Linked DNA regions of Homo sapiens: regions 2, 3 and 4 are each linked to region 1. Evidence: promoter capture Hi-C in 16 types of primary human blood cells and fetal thymus (Javierre and others, 2016). All regions are on one chromosome and are shown on one strand. The core of a region is centred on a gene start or on the middle of the fragment in contact, and the rest is flanking DNA. Distances in the headings are between cores, read along the strand shown. Region 1 holds the start of BCL9 (BCL9 transcription coactivator). Region 2 overlaps ACP6 (acid phosphatase 6, lysophosphatidic). Region 3 overlaps BCL9 (BCL9 transcription coactivator). Region 4 overlaps ACP6 (acid phosphatase 6, lysophosphatidic).

Region 1 (7,685 bases), core at 3,024-5,523:
CCATGTTTTGAATGAACATTAAGTCCCATAGGGAACCCATAGGAACCTATTATGAGCCTGTGCCAGATGCAGGAAAAGGGAGAGGGAATGTGGAGAATTATGAAGCTCCTTCAATTCATTCTGGGCTGGGCTAGATAAAAGTTTTGAAAGTCTTTGCTTTTCACATCTTCTCACCTCCTACAGCTTGTCTTGTTTCCTAGTGTCCCTTCTCTTTCTACTGCCCTGTACAGCCCCCAAATCAGGCCTGCCGTACACCAAGGAGTCTTCTAAGTTACAAAACTATCTACCTGCTCCTACTATTGTTTTCCTCTTCTCCCTCTACTCTAAATGGCTGTTTGATATGATATAGGAATTTGTAGAAAAGTAGGCTAATGAAATAATTCATGCTAAAGTAGGAAAGGCTGACTTCCCTTATCCCTTCTAGAGGTGTTTACATTTTAAAAAAATTATTAATAATGCAAGTGAATTTGTAATTGGTGAGAGCTGTAGCAGTGAAACAAAATAAAGTGAAAAATGGATATTATGTAGAAGGCATTTTGGAAGAGGTGTGTTGCAATCTGGGTAGAACAGCCCAGATAGGGTCTAATTCTTGTTCCATTCCTTAAACCCCCTCCAGCGCATTTACACACATACATGCCAAACACACCTCATCAGTTACCTTGGCTTCTAGTCTTTTTCTTTTCTTTTTTTTTTTTTTTTTTTTGGAGACAGAGTCTTGCTCTGTCACCCAGGCTGGAGTGCAATGGTGTGATCTCAGCTCACTGCAAGCTCTGCCTCCCGGGTTCACACCGTTCTCCTGCCTCAGCCTCCCCAGCAGCTGGGACTACAGGCGCCCGCCGCCATGCCCGGCTAATTTTTTTGTATTTTTAGTAGAGACGGGGTTTCACCGTGTTAGCCAAGATGGTCTCCGTCTCCTGACCTCGTGATCCGCCCACCTTGGCCTCCCAAAGTGCTGGAATTACAGGCGTGAGCCACCGCGCCCAGTCTGGCTTCTAGTCTTTTCCTCATCAACCAGATAACTATTAGCATGATAGCATTTCAGAACTGGAAAGGGTTTTAGAGCTAATGTCATTAGCTTATTTTATAATTGAGGAAATAGGGTTCAGATAGCAAGGCTCGTGCTCACAGTTCTTCTGCCTAAGAATCTAGGACATTTTCATCTATACTCCATGCTTAGCTTTCATAAGTCTTGTAAAATAAACTTAGAAATGCTCATGCATTGACCTTGTTCACTTATCCACTTGGAATTTCTTTTTTCTCTTTGGAGTTGGCAGGTGGAAGCCATCAGTGCTGGAGGCAAGATAGTCTGACCTGGTGTTCTTACCAACATGTTCTGGCCTGGAGGCCTGGCATTCTCTGTCCTCTGCCAAGTGGAGGAATTGGAAAATTAAAGGTTGTTTGGGGGCCTGGGCACATGCTTTCTTTTTCTTTAACTACTTATAGGAGATATCATGAGATTTAAAAATGCATGTGAAAGTGTTAGGATCATGATTGCCTCTTTCTTCTTTCTCTCATTGAGCATTTGTATTTTCACTCTAACAATTGGAACAAGTCTTTTTGCTGCCTTAGCAGTACAGCATAGTGGTGGGGATCCTGGTCTCTAGAAAGGCAGACCACCTGGGGCCATATCTCAGCCACTACTTCCTGGCTGGATTACCTTAACACGCTCCTTCACTTCTGTGCCTCAGCTCCTTCATCTAGAAAATAGACACACTGATAGTTTACACTGTATGGGGTTGTTTAATATATGGAAATTCTTAATAAATGTTAGTTGCTGTCATCACCATTATCATCAATATCTATGGGCCTTTTTAGTTTGCTTTTTTATTTAAAAAAATTTTTTATACTTAAGAAAGGGAAGCTTTTCTGGTCTTAGCTGCCTTTCTCTATTGCCTAGCAATCTGAAAATAGTGCAGTCATTGAAGGTTAAGTCGACCCTTTATGCAATTCTTGCCTGGGAGGCCTCATTGTGTATAGTGAGTCACCACCACTTAGAAGTGGACAGTGAGTCAGTAGCCTATTAAGGGGAGGTCAGAAGTTCCCCTGGCTCAAAATGAAAGGATCCAAACCCAACCCTGGGGTACAGAAAAAACAGTGTACTTATATGGCTGACTGGACTTGAAGTGCCATGGAGTACCTGGACTACTCCAGTGAGAAGGCATAATATGGCGGGTAAACGCTGGGGCTTTAGAATCACACAGGCCTCAGTTGGATTTCAGCTCTACCTCTGCCTTGCTGTGTGACCTCAGACAAGTTGCTTAACCTCTCTGTGCCTCGTTTTTCTATCATCTGTAAATGGAAATGATCATAACAAAAATTACTTCATGATACAAATGAGTGGGAAAATGCTAAGAATCAAGTAAATACTTAAAAAAAGGTTATTATTATTATTATTATATTACCACATCATCATCATTAATGGGAGTCGGGACAGACAGTTCAGGGATCAGGGATAATGGAGGAGCAAATTAAGGGGGAAAATAACAGGAACAAGTCTGTGTCTTTGATGTGGTGAGTTTTAGGTAGTGACACCTCATTTAGCTGGTGTTAAGTATGAAAGAAGTCATAATTTATTCTTTACTGCATACCTATGAAGGAATGAGTGATGTGTGTTCTCATAATTTCCATTTTGTAAAGGAAGATTCTGAGGAATAGAGTCTAAACAATCTTCATGAAAAAGTACAGAACTGATTCAGCAGCAGTTAGGAGCTAAGCTTCCATTCAGATCCTGTTGCATAGGGATAACTCTTCTGGCCTAGGCAGAGGAGACCTTGTTAGGTCTGTGAGTCCACAGTATCTAAAAATATGAATGTCATATAATCATCCTGTCATTCTTCTTCCTGATCTCAATTGGCCCTCCTGATTTCATGCCATCTGCAAATTTGCACATCCTTTGTGCTCCTTTTTGCTCACATTTTATGCCTTCTTTTACCATCTCATTTACTCTGCATGTTTCAATCTTTCTGGGCTTCCATTTTTCTTCTTTTTTTAATGCAGTGTTGTTTCTCTCTCTCTCTCTCTCTCTCTCTCTCTCTCTCCACTCCTTTACAGCCCCCACCTCCTCCCTCCACACCAATCAAATTCCTGCTTGTTTCTTGCCATATTCATTATCCTACCTCATTCCCCTCTTATTCCTAGAAAACAGCACACTCACCCTCCCCTCCTCCAACTCTCAGGCCCACCCTCCATAAATTCCAGCAGCCTGGCAATCAGTAACTTTAGCATCACACTTCACAGCTCTCCTAGTTTACACTACTTGTTACTACTCTCCTTGCTACTGCTCTCTAGGGTTTCTGCTAAAATAAAAAATAAAAAAAAATAAAAAAAGCTTCACTTTAAAAATATCTTGGGTACAAGTTGAACCTACAGTTAAGTTTACTCACACATTTACACATTTCATGATTTTATTTTAACTAGTAGCTCAAGTCCATGCTCAATTATGCAGTGAAAGAAGGCTAGATCCTTAGGAAACAAATTTTTCTCTATTGTAAAGAAGAAAAATCACCTAACCACTCAACAGAAACCCCAGTCCTGGGGCCACTCACCCTCTTATCTCCCTACTCCCCCAATCTCCAGCTAATGGGACTTTGCTTTTTCCTTTGTCGGGTCATTTATTTCACTTTTCCTGGCGCTGAGATGGCCTGAGTCTGTGTATGTGTGCACACGTGTGTGGCCACTGCTTTTCTTCCAAAGGACTCACCTCTCTTCTGCCATTTTACTAGGACACAGGAGGCGGCTCTCTGCTCTCGCTCTCCCTCTCTTTTTCTCCCTGCCCCCAACTCAGCCTGGGCTTTTTCCTGTCTCTTAACTCCACCAGTGCAGCAGCAACTAGCTGAGCTGCTTGAGAGAGAGAGAGAAGAGAGAGAGAGAGAAGAGAGAGAGAGAGAGAGAGGAGAGAGAGAGAGAGAGAGAGAGAGAGAGAGAGAGAGAGAGAGAGAGAGAGAGAGAGAGTGTGTGTGTGTGTGTGTGTGTGTGTGTGTGTGTGTGTGTGTGTGCCTGCGTGCGCAGCTAGGCCAAGCCTGCGAGCCTGCCTGTCACTGGAGAGTTTTAGTTTGCATTCAGAAGAAAGGAGGAGGGGAGACAAGAGGGGAGGAGGAAAAGGTGGAGGGGGGAGGAGTGGGGGGGCGCAGAGAAGGGAGGGAGAATGTCTTGTTTGTGGCTTGTCAGCAATTGCTTGAGACAAGCTTCCATGTGTGAAAGCTACTTGGCATGAATGCCTGGGCCGTACCAAGTGTCACCGCAGCAAGAGGGGGAGTCAGAAGAAAAACAGATCAGACCAGAGCAGACAATAGGCCCCTAAAGTGTTCCCCCTAAGTTGCTTTGATGTTGTCCTGGTGTCTTGATACCAGGAGGCCAGGGATTGCGGGAAAAGGGTCTTTTTTGTCTTCATTCACTTTCCCCCCTCAGTTTCTGAAATGATTCTCCAGAATTTCTCCTCATAAAAAAGGTAAGAGCCCTAACAATTCCTTCTTCGGTGGCAGGCTTGTTCGCCTGTGCCTGGAAGTGGGGGTCTCATTCCTGCGCTGCTCTGGAGGAGCGCTGGGGTCCTGCGATTGGAGCTCCTGCGTTGCCCCTGGAAGTCTTTCAAGGCATCCAGGACTGGGGATGGCCCCTCTTTCGAGGGAACCCCAGTAACACGATCTGTGCCTCTGGGTTGGTGGGGGAGAAGGGGTGGATGGAGAGGGCTGGGAGGAGGGTGTGAGGGTGGGAGGGAAAAGAGAGAGAGAGAGGGAGCGCGAGAGAGGGAAGCCTGGAAAAGAGGGAGAGAAGGGCAGAGCCTTGGTTCAGGGAAACCCCAGCCCAGAGCCCAGGGAGGCCTTGCAGGCTCCGAGCTGTGCATTCTCAGGCTGAGCAAGGGCCGGCCAGGGCTCCGCCGAGTGACTGCAGAGATTGCATCGAGCTTTGTGTGTGCCAGTGTGCCCGTGGGTCTGTGTGTGCGTGTGGACTTCCCACACACTGCCCTGGCGTGCCTCGCTGTGAAGGGGAGGCACCCCGATCCTTACCACCCCAGCCCAGACTCTCCGAGGAGGAGCGGCATGGCAGGCAAGAAGGGAGAGCAAGAGAACTCTGCCACAAGACGATCCAGAAACTTTTCCAGTCTCAGGGATTCCTCTGGTCGTAGAGACTGTTGAGTTGTGGGGTGCCCCGTGCCTCAATTTCCCCATCTGTAAAATCAAGGTTGCTGATCAGGGATGCTGTATGCCTCCCTGGGATTGAGCGAAACAGAACAGATCACTGTGTCTGAAACGCGTGGAGAAATCGTCAGCTAGAGATGCTGTGGAATCACAGAGTAGAAGTGTTATCATTATTCTTGATCATCATCATCAGGGTAATAAAAACATCATTAAAGACACCCTGAGACAAATAGACTGAGGAGCACAGATCAAGTGTCTGAGCATTTCTAAGGAAACAAAAAGCCTTGTTCCACCTGTTGGCTTCTGTCCTTTTTCTCTTGTGTCTTTTCGTTAGATTTATTGGCCGATTTGTACAGAGAATGGGGTGGGAGGGGTTGGGTTTTCCCCTTTCCTCCTCCTTGTACGTATTTTTGTTTTAAAGAAGGTCAATGTAAGATGCTTGAGCGAGAAAATGTGCCTCCTGGTATAGTAGTTTATTCAAGACCTTGTGTTTTCTGGGGCTGGCAGGGCATGCAGACGCATCTGTAAACTCTACCTTGGAGGTTAAAGATTTTTATTGTGGCTTTTAGAGATTAAATGAGATTTATTTACAATTGCTGTTTATCAGAGAGTAAATATCTTACTGTGTGTGTACGAGGCTAAGAATGTGAAGGCTGTTTACTCGCCGGTGGTTTTGTGGATAAAACCTTTTGCTTTTTCAAGTGACATCTTGAGGGATGGAACAGAGGGCTAAAATCAGTGCCTAACATTCATCTTAACAATTTTTTTTGAGGAAAAAAAATGTCTGCTTATTTTCTTGAATTGTGGATTTCCTTTCTTCTGTTCCTACACATTGATTGTTTAAAGGCTCTCAGTTGTAGCTCTCTCTGAATTCTCTGGAGGAGTTCTGCTTTCTTACCTAATTCTAGGTTTTCTGTGACTCTGCTACTTGTCCAAAAAAATCTGTAAAAGTCTAGGAGGCTGTGCCTCCTTCCATTCTAACTGCAAATGTTTATCAGACTGACTCCCTGTGATAGCTGGAGATTGAAGCAAAGGGCCAGCCCTGGCTGAGAATATTTATGTGCTTTTCACAGAGGCCTGGAAACCTGACTTCTGAGTATGGGAAAAGCTGAAGGAAAGCCATTAGTTGGCCTGGATCTGGCAAGAAGGTCCCCCTACATTTAAGGTTTTATTAAAATAAAGCTGTATTTTATGCATATATATATCTGAAAACTTAGTTGTTTTCTACTTTATAGTCAGAGATCTTACCATGGTTGTTCCTGACAAGATTTCAGGGTCCAGATATCTTCCTAAAATGTTAGAATTTAAGAACTGCAAGGAAAAAGAAGTGTTATTCCATCATGTTATAGATGAGGATGTTAAGGTCCAAGAGAGATAAGCACTGATCTGAGGCGGGTGCAACAAAGCTGTGGTAACATCTAGACCACACCCTGGGGTTCAGAGTACCCCAAGGGTCTTCATGCCGGGTACCCTTACCTCACACCCACATTTGATTTTACAAACTCCAGCACTTGGCCAACCAAAGAGAGGCACCTTTTGTAGTTCTGCTTGCTGTGCTGGATTACAGCAGCACACTCTGCCCTGCTCATGTCATCAAATGGTACAAATATGCAAACATGGGTCCACAACATGAATTTGCATAAATTCATTCATGTATTCATTTGTTCATTCAACTTATATTTTGGGGCTCTTTACTCTGCAGCAGGCAAATACTGGGCACTGAGGATATAGGAAGAGAAAGGCAGATATACCCCTGCCCTCAGGGAACTTACAGTCTTGTTGGTATGATCAACATTAACCACATGGTCACACAAACCAGTAATCATAATATTGATGATACTTGTTGAATAGCATGCAAGTATTATGACGGAGTGCATAGAGTTGCATAAGTTATTGACTCAAAGTGTGTAACTAGACATAAGCTAACTGTTCTCTTTCTCTGTGTGGCTGAGTTCCCCTTGCCCCAGCCAACCTCCATTCCACTGGTGCCATTCCTATTCACAGGGAGCCCAGCAATTCCAAAGAGCAGAAAATTCTCCTTCCCTCTCTCACCATCCTTCACTCTCTCTCTTTTTCTTAGCACACAGACCAACAAATAATATCTGCTAATCCCCTACACTTGTGCCATGAAGTAACTTCACTCTTGTAGTGAGCAGCCTAACATTGTTACCTGGATAATTCATGTTGACCGTGGTTAGTGAGACTCTGATCTCGTTTTACTGATTCCATCGTTCTTCCAGGGCTGGTACTAAACACTCAGCTGCAAGAGACTCCACCATTATCACTGTCATCTTGGAATTCCAAAGACAATATAATAAAATGACCTTTCCTACCCCTCCCAGCAAGGACACATATCCTACCCCTCCCAGTGAGGACTCATAAAGGGAAAAAAAAATTAAATACCTTTTTAGCAGATCTCTGGTTGTGCTATTAAAATCTGACTGGTTTAGTGATATCAAAGATAGAATGTTTTTTCTCTCTCTCTCTCTCTTCCTCCTATTTGTGGCCTTTCTTGGAAAGAATATAGTGTCTGGTTGAAATGCCAGTCAT
Region 2 (7,850 bases), core at 5,253-7,752, 100 kb after region 1:
CCACTCTAGACCAAGGAGCTCTCCAGTCCTTAAATTCTGGAGTCTATCATTTTATGGGTTTTAAAAACTAGGGCCACATTTGCCTTTGTATTTTGGTTCTTTGAGACTAGAAATCTGAGAGTATCTTCATTTCTCATAGATTACTGTCTGAAGTGACATCTATAACTTAACTTTTTATCTACTCCAGGGTATTACCTACCAAATAGGAAGATCCGAACTCATTGACATCAACCAGGTGCTGTCCTCACTGCTCTAAGATTTCAATCCCTCCCAGCAATCTTGGGCCATTTGTGGCTTAAAGGTAGATTCTGTTGTTAGGAAAGACTTACTAGGAAAGAGAGGGATTTGGATTTAACTGCTTTCATTTTCTCTCTCTCCTCTATTAAATCTTCTCCCCCAGACGCTGAGCCTATCTTTTACTTCTTCATTACTTTTTTTCTCAGAATACAGCTTAAGAGCCCTTAGCTTCCTCTTCCTGTCCCAATCTTGCCCAAGCTTCTAGTATTATCATGAGTAAAAATTAGGGAAGTTGGGGAGAAGTCCTTGTTGGGGTTGAGGGAGTGTTGAGTATGAAATGATGAAGTGGTGTCTATGTGTGGACAGTTGGAAATAAGAGACAGGGATGAATGAGCAGTTTGGACTAGATATGGAGATGTGAATTCCTCCACATGGAGATGAATATAGATTATTTCTCTATGGGAGTGAGAGAATAGAGAGCCAAGTGGAGGGCCAAGAACTCAGTCATGAGGGATTGGCACAGTCCGCAGGCAGGAAGAAGTTCCAGCAAAAGAAACTGAAATTCACAGAATAGGAAGAAAACAGAAATGATCTAGCCCACCTCTCCCATCTAACTGATGAGGAAATGGTTGTCCAGATAAAAATGAATCAGTGACTAAGGCAGCTATGAAAATATAGAGTTGCATAAGTCCTGAGGGGTTGGGGGAGTGGCTTTCAAGAAATAGGAGGTGGTCCACAGGGCCAAATACTTCTGATCAATCAAAAAAGGTGAGGAAACTAACGATGGTACTTGAAATTGATTAATGTGTTGGTCTCCCAGAGTGTAGCTGTGGTAAAGCAGAAGACAGAGAAACCTAAGCATGTGGGGGAAAGGGTGTAAATGTGAAAGAGGCAAAGAGATACTGAGTTATACATGCTCAGTACGTTTGGCAGTACCAGGCAAGAGAAATAGGATGGTTAGATAGAAGAAAAATATAAATAAGCAAAGTTTAAGACAACAGAAGTACTACTAATTTAAGACAGAAAGGAAGGAACCAATTGAGTGGGAAGGATTGAGGACACAAAAGAAGTCCTGCCATCTTTGGCAGGAAGATCACAAGAAGCGGGACAGGAACTGAAGCACAGGTAGCGGTAAGCTTTGGGGAAAGAAAGATACCAGAAGTGAAAGGAGAAAGGTGCCATGTGTGATGAAGCAGATAAAGCAAAGAGACAAAGGGACACATCCCGGAAGCCAGATGTGCAGATATGGAAGGAAAACATGCTGATCCTCAGGTCAAAGGTGAAAGTTTGAGTCCTGCCTCTGCCTCTCCCTGGATATTTGACTTTGATCTCTTTGAGCTGGCTGCTTCACATTTGGATGTCATAGGCTTTTTGTGAAACTGTTATCGGACAACATGTGTGTATGCCTAGTATGAGTTATCAGAGCATTTTTGAGAGATGCCTTAGGCTGTAATGCAAAAAGATATGAAATGGCTGCTCTGGTAAATTAGAAAGCTCACAAGATACACCAGCTGGGCAGTAAGAGGGTTCTAGCTGAAGCAGAAAATCATGATTCTTCTTTCAGAAGGGACACCCAGGGACCCCTCTTGCTGCCCTCCTGGGCACTGAAAGGTAGCACAGAAAAGCCATAGAGAAAGAAGCACCACAGTGGAAATTCCATGATGGGATGGTGGTGGCCACAGCAGGAAGGCATTTTCAAGAGCTACTGGAGTCCCCAGGCCCAGCCAGCCCAAGGTGGGGATAACAGCAACACTTTAATAAGGTTACACTGGGGTCACCAGATTCTCAAGCACTTCTCTCCTCCTGCTTTTAAAGTTCAGAATCATCTAATTAGAGGACCAAACTCCATCCCTGACCACATGAAAAGCAAAATGAGGCCTGACTCTGACTCAAACTGTTCACAGAGAATGAAGGATGCTGTGGAATCCTAGAACTTCAGATTCTCATGGTAGGCAGGGACTGGCCCGTGTGTGACCCTCTACAATACTTTGCCTAATGCCAGTGTAAGCTTATAAAAGAACCCTCTAAGGTAGCCCAATTCATCCATGGTCAGCTCTGATTATTTCAAAGGTTTTCCTTATGTTGATCTCAAGTCTATACATCCCTGCAACTTACACAATACTGTTCTGCGTGTGGTCCTCAGTGCCCACATAAATCAAATATTTGATATGCCCTCTGTCTCTTTGATCCCTTCCTCTTGATGGTCTTTCTCCAATTGACAAGCTTGTCTAGCTCTGCTACCAAGTCTGGCTCTCAGATCTGAGAACAGTTCCCTGGCTGTGCTCTGAACTGTGCAGGATGGAACATCACTTCCTTCATTCCAGTACCAGGATAGCCATTGCACATTTAGGATTTTGAGGAACACATCATACTATGGATTCACACTGAACAAATCCCTCACTAAAACCCCTCTTCAGTTGTGGGCAACTGATTTTGAGGCCCCAAGATCAGAACTCTGCATTTGTCTCCATTAAGTTCCATCTTAAAATATTTGGCCTAGGATCTAAAACTGATATCAGCACAAACATATCTAAGACATCTATCATTTATTCATTCATTCAATTAGTCATCCAGTAAGTGATTTTCCCCAGTTGTATGTCTTCAGTAAATGTGGCCAGTCTGCACCCTGTATCTTTACTCAGTTGTATTTTATGCAAATCTTTGAAAAAAACGTGTCCAACAGGGCAAAGGCCTATCATACAACATGGAACACTTCCCTGAAGAACAGCTGACCACTGAATTAGTTTCTTTATTAATTCAGCAAATTCATTCAGTAAGTACAAATTGAGTCCCTACTACATGCCAGGTTATGATCTACAGATAGCATCCAGCATGTTCACTGCATACAGCAGTGAACCAACCAGACAAGGTTCCTGCTTTTTGCAGAGAAGGTTACAAGGGATAATAAACACTTAAAAACAAATAATCGCTAATATTGTTTAGCTTGCCTATGTGCCAGCCATTGTTCTAAATGCTTTATGTGTTTATTCCTCACAAAGCCTTATGAGGTAAATACTCTTCTTGTTCCCATTTTATAGATTAAAATGCAGAGAAGTTGTCACTTGCTCAAGGTCATATGGATCCTAAAGGATGGAGCATCAACCTGGGTAGTCTATCTGTAGAGCCTGTGTGTTTAACCACTGGGCTTCTACTGTGTCTCTGTAGAAATAAACACTCAATTAAATATATATGTATATACATATATTCCCATGTGAGAGAGGGTGATATTTAAGCTGAGATCTAAAATGACAAGAGGCAGCCAACTCCTTGAGATCTAGCGGGAGAGCAAAAGGGAGTGTGGTGGAGGATGAGGCTGGAGAGGTGGGCAGGGGGCCTATTCCATGAGGCCTTGTATACCAGGGATTGGGGCTCCAGTAATTTAACCAGTGGTGAACATGCCTAGTTGCTTCAGTATCCAGCCCATACATACCCATCTTGTCCACAAATATACTGCGAACAATTTCCTTTCCTGATCCCCATACATGATCAAAGGACATTCCCTTTATACTCCAAACCATTACCTTCCAGTCTTCACCATCAGTGTGGCACAGAAAAATACACTGGTTTTTGCTTTTGTTTTTGTTTTTTTGAGACAGAGTCTTGCTCTGTCACCCAGGCTAGAGTGCAGTGGCACGAACACGGGCCACCACAGCCTTGACTTCCCACGCCCAAGTGATCCTCCCACCTCAGCCTCATGAGTAGCTGAGACTACAGGCACTTGCCACCACGTAAAGCTGAATTTTAAATTTTTTGTAGAGATGAGGTTTTGCCATGTTGCTCAGGCTAGCCTCGAACCCCTGGGCTCAAGCGATCCTCTGACCTCAGCCTCTCAGAGTGCTAGGATTACAGGTGTGAGCCACCTGGCCAAGATGTACAATCGCAGTTCAGAATCCATTAAATCTCCATGGTGCTATATGACCTTGGCCAAGCCACAGGCTCTCTGATCTTCAGTTTCCAGGGATATTTCCCCATTGTTCCATAATGTTACCTTACTCCTAGAACTGAACCCCTGAGGTATTCAGCATTTTGGAATTTTTGACCTAGAGAACAACCATTCCTTCAACCTTTCCCCTTCCTGATCTCTTCCATTCTTCTCTGTGCAAGGCCCAGGTAAGCTGTGCCTACCTTTATGCAGCTGGCTTCAGTTACTAACAGCTCCAGGGACTGCTCTCTCATCTCCCAAAAGCCCTGCTGGTTTGACCCCATCAAGTTCTACTTACCCAAGTGTTATACAACCCTCCCCTTAATTACACACTCAATCAGTTCCTCCCAAGCTCAGCAATTTGTGGTCTCTGGGCATCCCCCAGCTGCTTTTCCGGAGGTAGCTCCCAGGCTGGGTCCTGGCAAGCCTCTGAAGCACTGCTTGGGTTTTTAAGGCCATGGTACCCAGAGTTGAAAGCCTTGCTGTTATTTCACACTCTATTTCCTTCCAAATTAATTCTCTGATGAATACTGTCCTTTGCAGTGATTCAGTGCAGGCCATTTCCTTACATCTTTCCCCTACCTTTGAGACTTTTAATCTCTCTCAAATCCAGATTTTCCTTTGTGAAAGGCTTGCCTCAGAGAAAAATGCCCTGCTTTCCTACCAATATAAACAGCTCTACCAACACTGGCCCCAGCCTCCCGGCACACTCCCTTTACTGCTTGACTTAGCTATTCCTTTGATTTCAAAGCACACATACTTGCCTTCTCTAAAAATCTCTGTACAACACAGAGCAACTCAAACTTCTTGGCTTACAGTAAGCTGCTGGACCCTAGTTTCCTTAAGCCCCAAATACAAGAAGATGCAGGTTCAAAACTTGTATCTGAGGAGGTAGCACCTTCCATACCCTTTCACATGGTTATTTTGCTTACATCCCCCTCCCCTAACCCCAGCAGATAGTATCACCATCCTTCCATGTGGATAAACAGAAACTCTGCCATGCTAAAGGAGTTGCCCAAGGTCACAGGGCCCAGGAAAGTGGTAAAACTGGAATCCAAATCCCTGGCTCTTATCTCCAAGGTAGGTGCTTCTTTCAGCATCCTTCATGTGGCTTAAACACCCCTGAAACAGCCTAGTCTTCAGCCACCAAGATCTTACCACCCAGGGGCAAGCCATCTAGGTCCGCAGGCACCCACTGCCCACAGCCCTGAGGAATGCTCCGGAGGAGCCACAAAGAGGCTCCTCTGGCATAGCAGGAGCAATGGCTTATATTTGTATAACACTTTTCATATTAGGAAGTGCTTTCCATACCTAATCTATGTCATTCCTAGGATAATTCCATGAGGGAGATGCTATATTAGAGTCCCATTGCACAAATAAAGATATACAGGCTTATCAACAGGAAATTAATGGACTTGCCCAAAGTCACACAGGTAGTAGGTACAGGGCAGGACTTGAACTCAGAGCACATGACTCCAAGATCAGTGGTCTCTTGAGTTCTCAGACATGGTGACTGTGGGCCACTGCCCCCCTCCCAATTTCTTCAGGAAAAGGTACATTTTATTTAAAGGCCAAACGGAGAGCGGAATCCTGAGAAGACCAGCTTTTTACTGGGGAAAGTGTTTTTCAGTTCTCCCCAGCCAGCCTTAGACAGGGGTCAGGTTTCTAGAGGCTGGCAGGGTGGACTGGGAAGGGCCGGGCTGCAAAGTCCCCTTGGCCACTAGAGGGCAGGGTCTGAAGAGAGCACACAGCCATCTCCCCGGGGAATTCCCCACCCAGCAGAAGAGACTCATCGCTGCCTAGCAGCCCCAGGACACGCTCTAGCCCAAAGCCGAAGAATGATCCCTTCCTGGCATGTTGTAGACAGGGTAGGTGCCCTTAGCCCACCCCTCCCCCCACAGCCCGCCCAGCCTCCTCTGCAGGTAGATGGCGGTGCCCTAGAGGATTCCAGCTGAGGAAAAGGGGTGCCAGGTGCCACTGACAAAGACCTGAGTTTCCTACAATGAAAATAAACAGGTCAGCACTCCAGGTCCCGGTGCTTCGAGGACTAGGGGAGGGTGGGACGGGAACTCTCTCCTCCTCCCTCTTCAGTTGGGCCCTTCAGGGTTTCTGTCCCCTTGCTGCAGTTTTTAACGATCCACGTGGAACTAACTGTTACAGGGGAATAGGCACATGGCAGTGAAGGGTCTTGTCTAATGACAGTCCTTCATCCCAGGGCCTGCCAGAGCCAAGAGCTCTGTAAGATAAGCCACGAGGCCCTCGGGAAGAGCTATCAGGGGAGCCGCAGATGAAGTCGGCCTTCCCTGGCAAGCCTGGCTCTCCTCCGTCCTGGGAAGCCTTTCACTTTGCCATACACGGGTGAGAGCCTCCTGTGGGAATTCTTTAAACCTCAACAGCACTCTGAGGCCCCTTAGAGAAAGGAGTCAAGGCAGGGACAGGTTAGGAATTTATGAAGAGCTTTTCACACCCTATTTTCCATCCTCAGGACAAATCATCAGGTAGATAAACATTAACTTCCCCGCTTTATAGTTGGGAAAATGGAAGCTCAGAGAAATTAAGTGACATGCCCACAGTCACACAACTGGTGAGTGAGGGAGCCAGGGTTCTGTACAAATCTCCTGCACACACAGGCACAGTGCCCCGGGAAGGGCAGGCGGAGGCGGGGCGCTGCCTGCAGAGGAGCATCCCCAAAGGCTCCCTTGGCTTGCGAAACCTACCACAGTTAAGAATCTCGTGGGAAGTGAGATGAAAGAGAAAAGGGAAAATAAGAATACTTGAAGGCACTTATACGTTTCCTTAATTGATTCTCACAACAACCCTAATTAGTACGTATCATTATGCCCATTTTTACATGAGAGGAAAAACAGGCTCAGAAACACCCGTCCAAGCGTTGCAAGGAAATAAATACGCTGTCAGAATTTGAACCCAGCGAAAGCCTTGGTGTTTTCCTTTACTCCATGCTTCCCCCTGGTGGTGAGTGGAAGGAGAGTGCATAGAAGCCACCTGGGTGCCAACAGAAGAGTTAAGTCAGCGTTCTGAACTCATTTATTCATTCGGTAAATCTTTGCTGAGGTCCACTTTGTACAGTCTCTGCACTTGGTTCTAGAAATACAATAAAAGACAAGACAAACAACCTTCTATTGAAGGACAAACAGAAACACGGGAGGCCTAGAGATAATTGGATTACACAGGAAAAGGGAGTGTGGGTCAGGGGTCAGGTGATGGAAAAATGTGTGCCAAGGTAAAGAGGCCAGAGGAGTGCGATTTCCTTTTTTTTTAAACATACTATAGGTCTGGCTAGGGAGATATGTGAGGGGTGAAGCTGGAGAGGTATGCAGGGGCCAGGTCTCAGGGGGTGATGGAAAGCAAGTGAGGGTATGGCCCATTAGGAAGCCACTGTGGTAACCTAGGAGGGTGGCCTTGGGCCCCGGAGAGAAGTGACAGAGGGGATATGTCATTCAAATGTCCAAGTGTCTGAGCACTGGCATGCACTAGGCACTATTCCAGGTGCTGGGGACACATCAGTGAACAAGAGGAAATCTGCCTTCATGGAGCTTCCATTTTAGTCAGGGAAATAAGCATATAGATACACAAATATGTAATATCCGGCACTGATAAATATCACAGGGCGGGGGAAAGACAAGACAAGTGTATTCATTTGCTAGGGCCTGCCGTAGCAAAGTATCACAGA
Region 3 (6,872 bases), core at 2,254-4,753, 74 kb after region 1:
CGAGATTTTCCTCTGGCAGCAGGAGGCACGCACCCAGAGAATGCTGGAGCTGCAAGGGGAAAGGACCCACTTCCACAGCAGAGAAAAACAAAGAGGAAAAAGGCATACAGGCAGCGAGCGCTAAGGGACGCACCCAGCAAGCAGTGGGCCAGTGCCACTGCCCCCAGCAGCTGTTTCTGCTGCAACCCGAGAGGAACTCGGTGAGCCTGTCCCGTTTGTGACTGCAAGCTCAGGATTTCAATCAATGCATTCCAGTAACCCTAAAGTGAGGAGCTCTCCATCAGGAAACACACAGAGGTAAGGGCTGGGCTGGGGCCTCTTCCTGCAGCCCCTTGGGGATGCCATAGGCACATCATGAACACTCATTGGTGAAACAGTATGTTGAATTAGAAATAAATGAAACCCAAATGGGAAAGGAAGAGAAAATAGACTAGTAAATAGTAATATAACAGTAAGCAGGATACAGTGTAATCAAAGCTTATGTTAGAGTTTTCCTTTGTTATTCTTTTGTCCATCATTCCCTGACCTCTCCCCGCACCTCCCTGCCAAAGCACAAACGAAAGGACCATAGAGACCAACCAGTACAGTTTGCCTAAGTTTGCAAACAAGGAAACTGAGGCCTGGAATGGTGAGGAAGCCTAATGTCGTAGAACTAAAACGTTATTCCCCGGACTCCCACTGTGACACTTTTTCCTCGGTTTCACAGTAGTTAAATTGTTACTTTAAAAGAATTTTGTCCTCACTCCCTGAGGGCAGTGGTTGGTTTATCTGCTTTGGTGTAATACTGCTTGTTGGGAGGGATTAGTATCCTGGAGGATTTCCCTAACCTGACAGTCACCAGCTCCCGTGCTCTTTGGGACCAGCTTGCATTTTCCAGCAGGGAAGTGAGGCTCTCCTACAGCTGTTCCTTGTCATCAGCCTGGGGGTGGGTAGTATTTTGATCTTAACGATGCCTGTTTGTTTACTCTGAGCTAGTCTTAGTGTAAGAGTCACCTCTCTATGTACATAGAAACCGTTGTCCTTTATTGACAGAAGCCCTGGAGATGGGTCCCCATGTGACTGTAGGGTTCCTGAAACCTGGCAGGCCACTCTGCTTGATCCTCCTCTCTGTTGATAGCTCTGAGATGGGATCAGGGGTGGCGGGAGCAAGCAAATGGCTGAGGTGAATCATGGGGTGGTTATTTTAGTCCTAAGGGTCTCCTTGACCCCCAATAGAAACTGCCTCTCTCTAATTTGTGCTGACCAGCTGTATCTGGTGTCTGATCTTCCTTTGTTATTTGTTTCTTTTAGTAGCCCTAAGTCAAAGCAGGAGGTGATGGTCCGTCCCCCTACAGTGATGTCCCCATCTGGAAACCCCCAGCTGGATTCCAAATTCTCCAATCAGGGTAAACAGGGGGGCTCAGCCAGCCAATCCCAGCCATCCCCCTGTGACTCCAAGAGTGGGGGCCATACCCCTAAAGCACTCCCTGGCCCAGGTGGGAGCATGGGGCTGAAGAATGGGGCTGGAAATGGTGCCAAGGGCAAGGGGAAAAGGGAGCGAAGTATTTCCGCCGACTCCTTTGATCAGAGAGATCCTGGGACTCCAAACGATGACTCTGACATTAAAGGTATGTCTATAAGATCTTTGAGACTCAGAGGGAAGTAGGTGTTCCTGAGGGAAGGCCTCTGACATTCGACAGAGGCCAGAGAGCCTAATATCAGACAAGTGGGGAGAGTAGGTATCAGATTCATGAGTTCTCACAGTTTATGATGGAACTATTTCTTCTCATTTTGTTACTAACTGAAGAATTGTTTGGAACCTCCTAGTTGAGGAGTTCTTGCCCTTAAGGATGCAACGGTTTAGGGGTTATGGTAGGATGTTTCACAGGCCTATCCCTGTTCGTACACGTTTCTGGCCTCTATGCTGTTTGTACTTTAGTTTCAAGCCAGTAGCTCTAGTTTGTCTGTGCCAGTGGCCCCCACTGGGGTAGTTTTTCTGGTATCCCCTTCTCTTCTCCATCAGAGCAATCCTCCAAGGCTTGGGTCTTGTGTTCTCTAGTTGCCATTTTGCCAGACTTCAGACACAAGAGGAAGCCTTAATGGCCCTGGCAGTAGTCCAGATTTGTTACAGCTGATTTTAGTGTAGCAGGAATGAGTGGCTACCAGATGTGTAGAGATTTGGCAGGCACCAAAATGGAGTGAGCCAAGAAGGGTATGGGACCAACAGCTGTGGTTTTAGGCTTTTTCCTCCTAGTATAAGACCAAAAGTCTTAACTGTAGGCCAGAACATGAAGTTAGTATTCAAGGAATGGAAGTATGATTTTCCAACCCAAATTAGAAATGGAAACTTGGGTGATTGTTTCTCCCCTCCTTCCTCCCCTCCTCCCTCAAGTGTTTTGGCAGGCCTGCTATGAGTGCCAGCACTATGCTGGGGGGCCATGGTCAGCAAGATAGATACAGCTGTTGTCCTCAAAGATTTGAATGCACCTAGAAAGCTGATTATTAGACAGTTACAGTAAAATATGATAAATGCTGAAATAAGAGAAGTTAGAGGGCTGTGAGATCCATCCCCAGTTAAGTCTAGGAGGTTTCAAAAAGGTTACCAGAAGAAGGGACATTTACACTAATATATGAAGGAGGTGTAATAGAGAGGTAAGGAAGCTGGGGAAGACTGCTTTATGGTTAGTCATTTGAGAGAGAAGAGTATTTGAAATTTTATAAGTAGAAGAGGTTTCCTCTTAGCAAGGTGGTACTTCCTTGAAATTCTCAAGGTGGGTTTGTGTTGTGATGCTATATATGCTGGCAGAAGAAAGGAAATTTTATTCTTTCTGTGACGAGTCATTTTATTCTTTTAGAATGTAATTCTGCTGACCACATAAAGTCCCAGGATTCCCAGCACACACCACACTCGATGACCCCATCAAATGCTACAGCCCCCAGGTCTTCTACCCCCTCCCATGGCCAAACTACTGCCACAGAGCCCACACCTGCTCAGAAGACTCCAGCCAAAGTGGTGTACGTGTTTTCTACTGAGATGGCCAATAAGTAAGTTGATGGCTGTGTCTTGCTGTTGGGCAGGGCTTGTCTGGGGACCTAAATTCTTATTCCCATTGCAGATTGATCTTTTATTATCACCTAAAGTTAACAGTACAGATAAAACATAAAACCTCCCCAACCCAAACTCCCCCAGAGGCAACCACTGATAATACATCCTTTGCTTCCCTTTCAGAAATTTTTCGTGCTTGTACAAATATACATATATATCTCTTTTTCTTTTTTTTTTTTTGAGATGGTGTCTGTCTCTGTCGCCTAGGCTGGAGTGCAGTGGCAGATCTCGGCCCACTGCAACCTCCACCTCCTGGGATCAAGCAATTCATCTGCCTCAGCCTCTTGATTAGCTGGGATTACAGGAACCCGTCACTACACCCAGCTAATTTTTTGTATTTTTTAGTAGAGATGGGGTTTCACCATGTTGGCGAGGCTGGTCTTGAACTCCTGGCCTCAGGTGATCTGCCTGCCTCAGCCTCCCAAAATGATGGGATTACAGGCATGAGCCACCGCGCCTGGCCATATATACCTCTTTTAAACAGAAGAAGTTGATTGCACAATACACACTTTTCTGCAACCTACCTATTATTATTTTCTAAACAACACAAGTAACAAATGTCCATTCTAGAATAATTAGAAAGTATAACTAAAAATTAATATCTCTGGAATTCACAGAGATAACTACTGTAAACATTTTTATATATAAATTTTTAGTGGATGGATGCATCAATTTTTATTTATCAGAATTGTGATTATACCCTACATATATGGTTTTCTGACTTTTTTTCCACTTAAGATAAAAAGTGAATCTTAACAGCCTTAAACTATCACTAGGTATTGTACGATCTCATCTTCCCCCTTCTTGGGTTGGGATTTTGAACTCGGATTCTCTATAAAACACCTACCACAGCGGATTAGTTTCAGGAGAAAATCTTGGTTTTTGTCTTTTAATGCCTCTTTTGGGATTTGCTAATGGCTGTCTTTTAATTTTAGAAGTTTGATGATAAGTGGTAAATATAAATAATGAAACATGTTTGTCTTGATTTCTTCTTCAACATTTCTGGTGGTTCTTTCTATTCCTTCCTCTCCCTTACAAGTTTATTGTGTGGTTAAAGTGCTTTGGAATTACAGTTAGTGAAATAGAAACAAGTTCTAGTGTGTGCTGTCTCTTCCATCTTTGCAGAGCTGCAGAAGCTGTTTTGAAGGGCCAGGTTGAAACTATCGTCTCTTTCCACATCCAGAACATTTCTAACAACAAGACAGAGAGAAGCACAGCGCCTCTGGTATGTTGTTTCAGAAACTGAGTAATGGTTTAATGATTCTACAGTGACTGCAAAGGAAAGGAGGTGGTGAATTTAATTGATAGGAAGGTAGTCTTGATGGCATGAGTTGCATTCTTGGCATTTAACCTAATTCTGGCATTGTGGGGCATTAGGCATATCATACTATACTAGCCTTTTCTACGAGAAAGCTGGTAGATTGATGAATTACTAGGGGGAAGAAGATGCAAACTAAAAGAGGAGCTATACAGATATCTTTGGGTTTCCTTCATGTAATCGTCTCTGGGAAAATCTAAATTCAGACCCTGTGTACAGAGCAGGTTTTTTAAAAATAACACTCTTGAGCTAGTTGAATAACAAAGAAAGAACAGAAAAAAAGCAACAATTAAAACTTCTAGAGTACATGATGACAGTATCATAATCAGAGCCTCATCGACTTTCAGAGTGATTCATATTTATTTCAAAGTGATAAGACCATTGAATGTTTTTAATTGCTTGATATTTGTAAAATTGTAATAAATGTTAGTCTGTTTTCTATCTGGATCTTAAGCACCTGCTATAAACTCCATTAGAAAAAGCATACAGTGGCCGGGCGTGGTGGCTCATGCCTGTAATCCCAGCACTTTGGGAGGCCGAGGCAGGCGGATCACAAGGTCAGGAGATTGAGACCATCCTGGCTAACCCAGTGAAACCCCGTCTTTACTAAAAATACAAAAAATTAGCCGGGCATGCTGGCGGGTGCCTGTAGTCCAAGCTACTTGGGAGGCTGAGGCAGGAGAATGGCCTGAACCTGGGAGGCGGAGCTTGCAGTGAGCCGAGATTGTGCCACTGCACTGCACTCCAGCCTGGGTGATAAGAGTGAGACTCTGTCTCAAAAAAAAAAAGCATACAGTGGATGTTTTAATGCATGTAGTTTACCAAATTGAACCAAAAGATACTTCTTGTATCTGGCATCGTCAAGCCATTGCACCAAATGCTATGGGGGATACTAAGAAGTTCAAGACACAGTCCCTGCTTTCAGGGAGCATGAAATCTAATACTGGGATGAGTCTTAAACATGGGAAAAGTTAATTGACAATAAATGATCAAAGTGACAATTCAAGATAAAATAGGTGACATCTTTCCTATTTTGTGTATCAGAAAAGTCTCCATCTTTGTAGACATAAGCAGAGCTTAGGCCTTCCTAAACTTAGAAAAGGAATTTCATATTCCCCATGCATCTTGACTACTCAAGGGTAGAAGATGCATACAGTTATATTTAAAATGCTTATTGTCCTGGAATGAATATAGTACAGTGTAACTGAAACCAACCTTTTATTGACTTAATGGCAGTTCTTAATACCTACACCTTAATACCTACACCTACACCTTCTCTGGTACTAAAATCAGGAAAGGAGTTAAGGAAGGAATTGGGAATAATCCATTGTTCCACATCTAAATGTTTTCTGACGTCATGGTTTCGTTATATGAAATCAGTATCCACCCACAACAAACAAAACCTGACCAACAAAACCAAACTTAAAATGGCACTAGAAGGAAAATCAAGGTGACCTCTACACTCCAGTTAGGAGTGTGGATATGAAATATACTTTTAACTGTACAGAATCATACAAGATTCAGCTGATCTTACCCACACAACTCTTTACCTATAGGCAGAAGTGCATGGATACCTCAAAATCCAACATTTATATATATATTCACAGAATATAAGTGCTCAAAGATATGTTTTCATGTGTATACAACACAAATTGTTCATATGCAGAGATACACGTAATTATTTGTTTACATATTTGCACACAGGTAAACATTCCAGAGAGTAGGTGAGGAGGTAAGAGCCTGAAGGGTTTGGAAATACAGACTGGATTAAGCGAACAAGTAGGAGCAAATGAACACGGAAAAAAGGGTCTGGAGAAAGGCCTTTGGTGAAAGGTCTCTGAGACAGGGTTTGTAGATCAAGTCCTTCTGTTCATCAGTGCCCTCTTATATTTCAGCAGTGCTCTTGGTTTAGACCCAGAACATACACATCTCTCTTCCAAACATTCAAGGTGTCCATGTCACCTATTGTAGGTGAGTGTGCTTCTACCCTGGACTTAGTATAGCAGTGGTACTTAATAAACAATAATAAGGCAATCATCCAGCATATTAAAAAAGGGCAGTCTACTGCCTATTGGAAAGAACAGTTCAAGAGACACCATGAGCTAGATAGCCTCAGATTTCTCCACAGAAGCTTCCTGCCTGCAGATTATCTCACTACAGTTAATGTACAAATTCTTATCAAATGTGGAATCAGTGATCACCAACCAAAAACGGAAACCAGAGATGTCAGGCCTCCTGGAAACTCCAGGAGGGGAGTGCCTCAGTAGTCACCCTGCCAGAGGAGACGTTGAAATGGAGCAGCTGCTTCCTCGGCTGGTAGAATACAGAGCTGCAAGTGACTTACGCTTTCTCTCTCAAGATGGCAACATCAGGCCTTTTGATTGACAATGAGAAGTCTACATACCCAGTTATACTTTCAGGGAAAAGAAAAAGGTGTTAGGTACAGCCTCCCACATACCAAGAAACTAA
Region 4 (7,669 bases), core at 3,965-6,464, 120 kb after region 1:
TGTCCTTAGCCTATGTCCTGTTATTGCTACACTAGTAATGACTGCTAAGGGGCTGCTCTGGCACTTAGCCCACACTGAAGTAAAGGGGAGAAGTGACCAGAATGCCTGGCATGCGGATACGTGGTGAATGAACGAATAGATGGATGAAAGAAATAAGATGTCAGTGACCATATGTAAGAATTTATAAGGAATTAATCTGGAGGTTTATATGCCCTATCCCAGCTTAAGGATTCTACTTAATGTCCCTTGTAACTAATATACTTTTTTCCTCCTTTCATGCAATTCGTGAAACAAGCAGCTGCCATCTCAGAAGATGTTGCTTTTTCATCATCTTCCATTATTCCTTGCAATCTGGCTCCTGCCCCAACTGTGCTGTAATGATTTCAAAACATCACTAGTGGCCACAGGTCTCATAGCTCCAACTGTTCATAAAACTCTGACACTCATTGAGTCAGATGTGAATACTTCAATTTTAAAAACAAGTCTAATCCCATAGACCAGTTCCCCTTCCCAATCTACTATGTCCCTCTCAATGTTACCACAGTTCTCCTAGGCCCCAAACCTCAAACCTTTGGCTCCCTGTGGATCCACTATCCCCACACCAAGCCCTGTTGATCACTGCCTAGAAGAAAAGTCCCTCCCAATGGTCCTTCCATTATCTTATTGTAGAATGTAAACCTTATTAGTGCCTGTGACAAACTCCTCCCTTTCACCTGCACAATCCATCTATCCATAGCCAACTAATTAATCTTTTTGGAAAAAATATTTTTATTGCATTTAAATATTTTGTTTTATTTTTAATTGACAAATAATTGTATATTGTATATATTTATGGAGTACAATGTGATGTTTTCATATATATTTACATTTGATATATGATTAACTAATGTAAACAAAATCCATCAGCTCACATACTTTCATTTTTACGTGATGAAAATATGTAAAGTTAACCTTTTAGTAACATAGGCATACATCATTTTATTGCTCTTTACAGAGATTGCATTTTTCACAAATTGAAGGTTTGGAGAACTCTGCATTGAGCAAGTCTATCAGTGCCATTTTTCCAACAGCATGTGCTCATTCATGTCTCTGTGTAAAATCTGGTAATTCTCATAATATTCCAAACTTTTTCATTACTATTAAATCTGTCAAGGTGATCTATGATTTATGATTTGTTTTTCTTTTTGAAATGGGGTCTGGCTCTGTTGCCCAGGCTGGAGTACAGTGGCATGATCTTGGCTCACTGAAACGTCTGCCTCCTGGAGTGCAGTGGCATTACCTTGGCTCATCCTCTCACCTCAGCCTCCCGAGCAGCTGGGACTACAGGCATATACCATCATGCCCAGCTAATTTTTTTTTTTTGAGAGACAGGGTTTTGCCATGTTTCCCAGGCTGATCCTGAACTCTGTGATCTTTGATGTTACTATTTTAACTATTTGGGAGCGCCACAAACCGCCCCCATATAAGATGCCAAACTTAATCAATAAATGTTGTGTGTTTTCTGAGTGCTCTGCTGACTGGTATTTCCCCCATCTCTCTCCCTCTCCTTGAGCCTCCTTATTTCCTGAGACACAACAATATTAAAATTAGTCCAGTTAATAACCCTACAATGGCCTCTAAGTGTTAAGTGAAAGGAAAAGTTTCAAGTTTCTCACTTTAAATCCAAAGCTAGAAATGATTAAGCTTAGTAAGGAAGGCATGTAGAAAGCTAAGATAAGCCAAAACCTATGCCTCTTGCACCAAACAGCCAAGTTATGAATGCAAAGGAAAAGTTCTTGGAGGAAATTAAAAGTACTACTCTGGTGAACACACAAACAATGAGAAAGTGAAACAACCTTATTGATAACATGGAGATATTCAATGCAGAAGAAACAGCCTATATAGGAAGAAGATCCCAGCTAAGACTTTCATAGCTAGAGAGAAAGTCAATGCCTGGCTTCAAAGCTTCAAAGGACAGGCTGATTCTCATTAGGGATTAATGCAGCTGGTTTCCTTAAGGTGAAGCCAAGGCTCATTTACTATTCTGCAAATCCTACAGCCCTTAAGAATTATGCTAAATGTACTCTGACTGTGCTGTATAAATGGAACAACAAAGCCTGCATGGCAGGACATCTGTTTACAGCATGGTCTACTTAATATTTTAAGCCCACTGTTGAGACCTACTGCTCAAAAGAAAAAATTGATTCCTTTCCAAATATTACTGCTCATTGACAATGCACCTAGTCACCCAAAGGCGCTAATGGAGATGTACAAAATTAATATTGTTTTTGTGCCTGCTAACACAATGTCCTTTCTGCAGCCCATGGCCCAAGGAGTAATTTTGACTTTCAAGTCTTTATTATTTAAGAAATACATTTTGTAAGGCTATTGTTGCCCTAGATAGTGATTCCTCTGATGAATCTGGGCAAAGTAAATTGAAAACCTTATGGAAAGAATTCACCATTCTAGATGTCATTAAGAACATTTATAAGGAGGAGGTCAAAATAGCAACATTAAGCGAAGTTTGGAAGATTTGACTCCAACCCTCATGGATGACTTTGAAGATTCAGGCTTCCGTGGAAGAAGTAACTGCAGATGTGATGGAAATAGCAAGAGAACTAGAATTAGATGTGGAACCTTAAGTTCTGACTGAATTGCTGCAATCTCATGATAAAACTTGAATGCATGAGAAGTTACTACAAAGAAGTGGTTCCTTGAGAGGGAATCTAGTCCTGGTGAAGATAGTGTGAACACTGTTGAAATTACAACAATGGATTTATTACATAAACTTAATTGATAAAGCAGTGGCAGAGTTTGAGAAGATTGACTCCAATTTCAAAAGATGTTCTATTGTGGGTAAAATGCTATTAAACTGTGTCATAAGCTACAGAGAAATCTTTCATGAAAGGAAGAGTCTATCAATGTGGCAAACTTTACTGTTGTCTTATTTTTAGAAATTGCCACAGCCACCCCAACCTTTAGCAACTACTACCCTGATCAGTCAGCAGCCATCAACATCAAGGCAAGACCCTCCACTGGCAAAAAGATCATGACTCACTGAAGGCTCAGGTAATCACTAGCACTTTTTAGGAATAAAACATTTTTAAATTAAGGTATGTACATTTTTAGACATGCTATTGCATGATAGGATACAGAAGAGTGTAAACACAACTTTTATATGCACTGGGAAACAAAAAACAACTGTGGGTCTCACTTTATTGCGATATTTGCTTTATTGTGGTGGTCTAGACCTGAATCTGCAATATCTTCAAGGTATGCTTGTCTGTGTAGAATCTAAAGAAGTCAAAGTCACAGAATTAGAGAGTAGAGTGATGGTTATCAGAGGTGGGGGGGTGCAGTAAATGGGGAAAGAGAGATTTTTATCAATGGGTACAAAATTTCAGTTACACAGGAAGAATAAGCTTTAGTGATCTATTGTACAGGATGGTGACTACAATAAATAATAATGCATTGTATGTTTCAAAATCACCTAATTAATCTTGCTAAGCCAGTGTCATCATATCAGTAACTTTTTCCTAATGTCTCAGAGGAAAGCATCTGTCCTTCAAGAACTTCTACATCGTGGCTGAGTGCAGTGGCTCATACCTGTAATCCTAGCACTTTGGGAGGCTGAGGTGGGAGCATCACTTGAGGCCAGGAGTTCAAGATCAGCCTGGGCAACACAGCAAGACCCCATCTCTTAAAAAAATTTTAAAAAAGGACTTCTACCCCCTTTGTCCAGCCCCTGTACTCAGCTTCACTGCCTCTTTCCTCCCCTCCAACCTAGAACCTGCCCACTGTTTCTGCATCTTCTTCCAGCTTGCTTCTCTTGCTTGGAGGGACTCCTGTTCCTATCTGCCCATCACCTTGTCTTCAATGTTCAAGGATAGCTCAAGTCTTACTTCCCTATCACTGACCACTCTGGCTTTTGATGGTTATCTTTTAAATCTGAATTCCTATAACATTGATAACAAAAAAAATTTAACTCAATTTCCTACTACTTTGTTTAGTTTTAAAACTAACATTTGGAAACCTACTATGTCACATATCGTCATATTTATCTTCTACCCTCCCCGAACTATCCCAGGAGAATGGTACTGGGAGCCTCAGATTCTCTTGGCATCTAGGGAGCCCTCCATTCTTCCCAAAGGCATGTGTCAGTCCCACTGGCACCTGGTCTCCAACACCTGAACCTCCTTCTGACACATCAGAGGACCAGGTGTTCACAGAGAGGCCTTCTTCCTTCTTTCACAGTTAATCACTGCTCCCTCTTTCTGACCCTCTAACCCCTCTGGATAAAAAAAACCCTTCGAGGGTTCATGGCTCATGTGGCCCCACCTCCTCTCTAGCAGCCCCCTTACCACTTCTTCCCTATTCTACATACTTACTCACTAGCCACGCAACTTCCTTTCCTTTCTCATATTTCATGGCCTTTCAGTATCATGTTTCTTATGCCTGGAATTTTCTCTCCTCATTCATTTAGAAAGACTTTTGTTCATTCCTTAAGACTTAGCTTAAGTGTTCCCAGAAACCTTGGTCATGGCCTTATGCTTTCACAGTAGCTTCAGTGGCTCTCTTTAGTAGCCTTTACCAAAGTGTATTAAACGAGCTCCTTTACTGGTCTGTCCTGGCTTCCTGAGAACAGAGACTCGGTCATCTATTGACTTCTGTTTCCCAGCAAAGGGCCTCACACACAGTAGGTACAATTAATAGCTCCAACAATTTGCCAGCTCCTGTGGAAGATACCCATCTTGAGAAAACTTGACCCTGCCTTTCCTGGGTGTTCAAGTTAGTAAAGAAAAAAGGCCAGCTGTGAATGTAAATGACAGCAATACCATAATAGAAGCTGACATGTGCTGCAAGAAACCATATGAAGGCCATAGCAGTTCAAAGGCAAGACAGACCTTCTCTTCTGGCTGGGGATTCAGGAGAAGTTTCATTGAGGGAATAGCATTTTAAATGAATAGTATTTAGACAAGCAAATACCTGTACTTATAAAGGGTGACATTCAGAATTCCAAAAATAACTAGAAAGCTTGCGCAAAGCAGAGATGGTAAAGAATGTGTATGGCAAAGAAGTGGTTTGGTTTGCCTCAACCTGGGAATGGTTTTCCAATTTTTAAATCAGAAAATACCACATAAAGTTTAACTTTAGATTTGTATGTATAAAGGCAAAAACTCGAATTTCTCTAGTTGAAGTAGGAGGGAATCCCACAGCCCCAGCCGCTCAACATCCTCTTAGCCCACAGGCTCCACAGAATAAATCTGAAACCTGGCAGCATACATCACAATTGGAATGGGAAGACTAGATGCAGAAAAGCCCATTTTGAGATGTTAGCAATAGTCCACATGAGAGCCTAAGGCCTCATCTAAGCCAGTTAACAATAGAGGAGGTAGATGTAAGACATTTGAGTTAGACTTGGCAAGTGAGTAAATAAAAGCTTTATGTGGGGACTGTGTTGGTAGGTAAACACAGAAGAACAAAAAAGAGACTACTTTGATTTTTGAGCCTTGTAATGGAGATATTCCTTGACTAAAACTAAGACCAAGACAGAAAAACAGGTGGAAAGCTGATTTCAGTTTTGGACATTTGGAGACACCTCCTTTGTGTTCCCAGTGCTCCCAGCATATTGCCTTAATTGATATCTGTTGTCTCTGCTTTATCACATTGAAACTCCTTTAAAGGCAAGACTGAATTATCCATCCTTGTAGTTCCAGTGTCCACCACAGGGCCTGACACAAAGCTCCACAGGGCCATTCAGCCTCACTAAGAAATCTGTTAGGCACATTCACCAAGAGAGGACCCTTGGCGTCTCCTAGGAGTCTGGAGTCCAGGTCACGTCAAGTCTAAAGTACAGTTTTCAGATTTTCAAGAATGGATGATACATCAGTTTCATATAATAGTGTCCACCCCACATACACACTCTCATTCTCATTCCTGCTCTTAAGCTTCCCAGTTAGTGGCAAAGACTAACTTGATAATTTTACTTATTTTGTGTATACCCCTCTTCAAGGGGTAATAAAGTAGATATAGCAAAAATTAAAATATAGTAAGACAACCAATTCAAAGTAGGCAAGAAAGACAAAAGCAAACAAATGTAGGGACAAAGAAATGGATGCAGTAACACGGTTACTAAAATATGTACACCATGAAGATCTGTTTACTTACTATAGGTGGGCCACAGACTTGGCACCCAGCTTCCTGACTTTTACATAAAGAAACAAACTTGATCAGCTAGACTAGTTTAAAGAAAAAAGCAAGCCAATTGTTCAGGAGAAGCACACCATTCCTAATGCTAACAGACAAATTCCTCCCAAGGGTCCTCATAAAGAGGATAGAGTAATATAATGAACATCTTTTCAGCAGTCACAGCAATGAGTTCTGTGGGATTGTTTCTCCTAGTTCTCTCAACACAGAAAGATAACCTCTTACCAAAGCACATTTCAGCGAAGGCAATTCTGTACTGGGATTGATATACTACATTCCAGGTAAAAGAACAAATCTACATAAAAGTAAACAAAAACCTCCCAGGTGTAGATTTTAAAATAAAGCAATCATATTAAACCTTGTCTGTATACTGGTATTACCAGGACATTTTTTAAAAGTTACTGATGCCTGAGTCCCAACCTGGGATAACCGCATTTGGATTATCCCCCAAAAAAGTGGGGCCTCCACTTTTTTAATGCTCTTCAGTCCAGATAATTCTCAAGCTTCACCAGAGAGTCTTTTACATTATCTGGATACCCCGGACCAATTAAATTAGAATCCTTCGGAGGGAGACCCTGGCATGTGTATTTTTTAAAGCTTTCCAGTTGACTCCAATGTTCACCACGGTTAAGAACCATCGATCCTGAAGAATGGGTGGACCTCATGTAATGCTTCTTGAATACCGCTTCTTTTAGCTGAGTTTTGGAAAGGTACTAAGCAATAAAAGATTCTTACATTATGCTTCCCAGCTCATCTATATTGTCAAATAAATAGGGACCCAAATGTCTTAATCAACAGTGAAGCTGGGGTAGGTTGGACTTTATTTTATAAAAACTGAGGAATCTCCCTGGGTGGAGGCCATCTTGACACCCAGGGGAGTTGAGGGAAGCCTGGAAGCAGTGCCAAATCTTTTCTTTTGATAGTGCATTTGGATCTGCTCTAATGATCAGGAAAAAAAATGGCCAATCAAGTTCTATATTTTTATTTCCAAAGCACAATCTTTTAGCAAAACAGGTTAAACCAACAGCCATTCAAGCCATAAGAAAACAACCCAATAAAACACTAGTTTTTTGTTTTTGTTTTTGAGATGGAGTCTTGCTCTATCACCCAGGGTAGAGTGCAGTGACCCAATCTTGGCTCACTGCAACCTCCGCCTCCCGGGTTCAAGCAATTCTCCTGCCTCAGCCTCCCGAGTAGCTGGGATTACAGGCGCCCACCACCACACCGGGCTAATTTTTGTATTTTTAGTAGAGATGGGGTTTCACCATTTTGGCCGGGCTGATCTCGAACTCCTGACCTCTTGATCCACCTGCCTCAGCCTCCCAAAGTGCTGGGATTACAGGCATGAGCCACCACACCCAGCCAAAACATCTAGTTTTAAATCATGCTACTTTCTGAGAATTTGTGAGATGGCTGAATGAAGTGACTTGTCACATATATTAATCTATAAACCAGTCAGAAATCAGGAAACATGTACCAAAGA

The links. Contacts are between HindIII fragments. The CHiCAGO score rates a contact against its expected background, and 5 or more counts as called.
Region 2: a contact is called between a fragment that was not itself captured here and the fragment with the promoter of BCL9 in region 1, in 10 of 17 cell types (fetal thymus, activated CD4 T cells, total CD4 T cells and 7 more). The highest score is 15.8, in fetal thymus.
Region 3: a contact is called between a fragment that was not itself captured here and the fragment with the promoter of BCL9 in region 1, in 12 of 17 cell types (fetal thymus, activated CD4 T cells, total CD4 T cells and 9 more). The highest score is 28.9, in fetal thymus.
Region 4: a contact is called between a fragment that was not itself captured here and the fragment with the promoter of BCL9 in region 1, in 6 of 17 cell types (fetal thymus, non-activated CD4 T cells, activated CD4 T cells and 3 more). The highest score is 11.0, in fetal thymus.

The regions. Positions count from the first base shown.
Region 1 is chr1:147,537,228-147,544,912 of GRCh38, forward strand. It overlaps BCL9 (BCL9 transcription coactivator), which reads left to right and starts at 4,274. Exons shown (of 10, transcript NM_004326.4): 1 at 4,274-4,447. RefSeq lists enhancers at 3,932-4,226, 3,945-4,699, 4,260-4,319. The HindIII fragment of the contact is 5,169 bases long and covers 4,183-7,685 here.
Region 2 is chr1:147,635,049-147,642,898 of GRCh38, forward strand. It overlaps ACP6 (acid phosphatase 6, lysophosphatidic), which reads right to left. Exons shown (of 10, transcript NM_016361.5): 10 at 7,182-7,850. Among named protein-coding and RNA genes, the nearest start is that of ACP6, 32 kb to the right of the region's middle. RefSeq lists an enhancer at 6,306-6,807. The HindIII fragment of the contact is 8,089 bases long and covers 2,459-7,850 here.
Region 3 is chr1:147,611,593-147,618,464 of GRCh38, forward strand. It overlaps BCL9 (BCL9 transcription coactivator), which reads left to right. Exons shown (of 10, transcript NM_004326.4): 4 at 1-297; 5 at 1,291-1,607; 6 at 2,835-3,024; 7 at 4,211-4,310. The coding sequence starts at 245. It overlaps LOC128071544, which reads left to right. Exons shown (of 1, transcript NM_001414892.1): 1 at 1-204. The coding sequence ends at 204. Among named protein-coding and RNA genes, the nearest start is that of ACP6, 55 kb to the right of the region's middle. RefSeq lists an enhancer at 838-1,132. The HindIII fragment of the contact is 6,057 bases long and covers 476-6,532 here.
Region 4 is chr1:147,659,966-147,667,634 of GRCh38, forward strand. The region is part of intron 1 of ACP6 (acid phosphatase 6, lysophosphatidic); the gene reads right to left. Among named protein-coding and RNA genes, the nearest start is that of ACP6, 6.7 kb to the right of the region's middle. The HindIII fragment of the contact is 406 bases long and covers 5,012-5,417 here.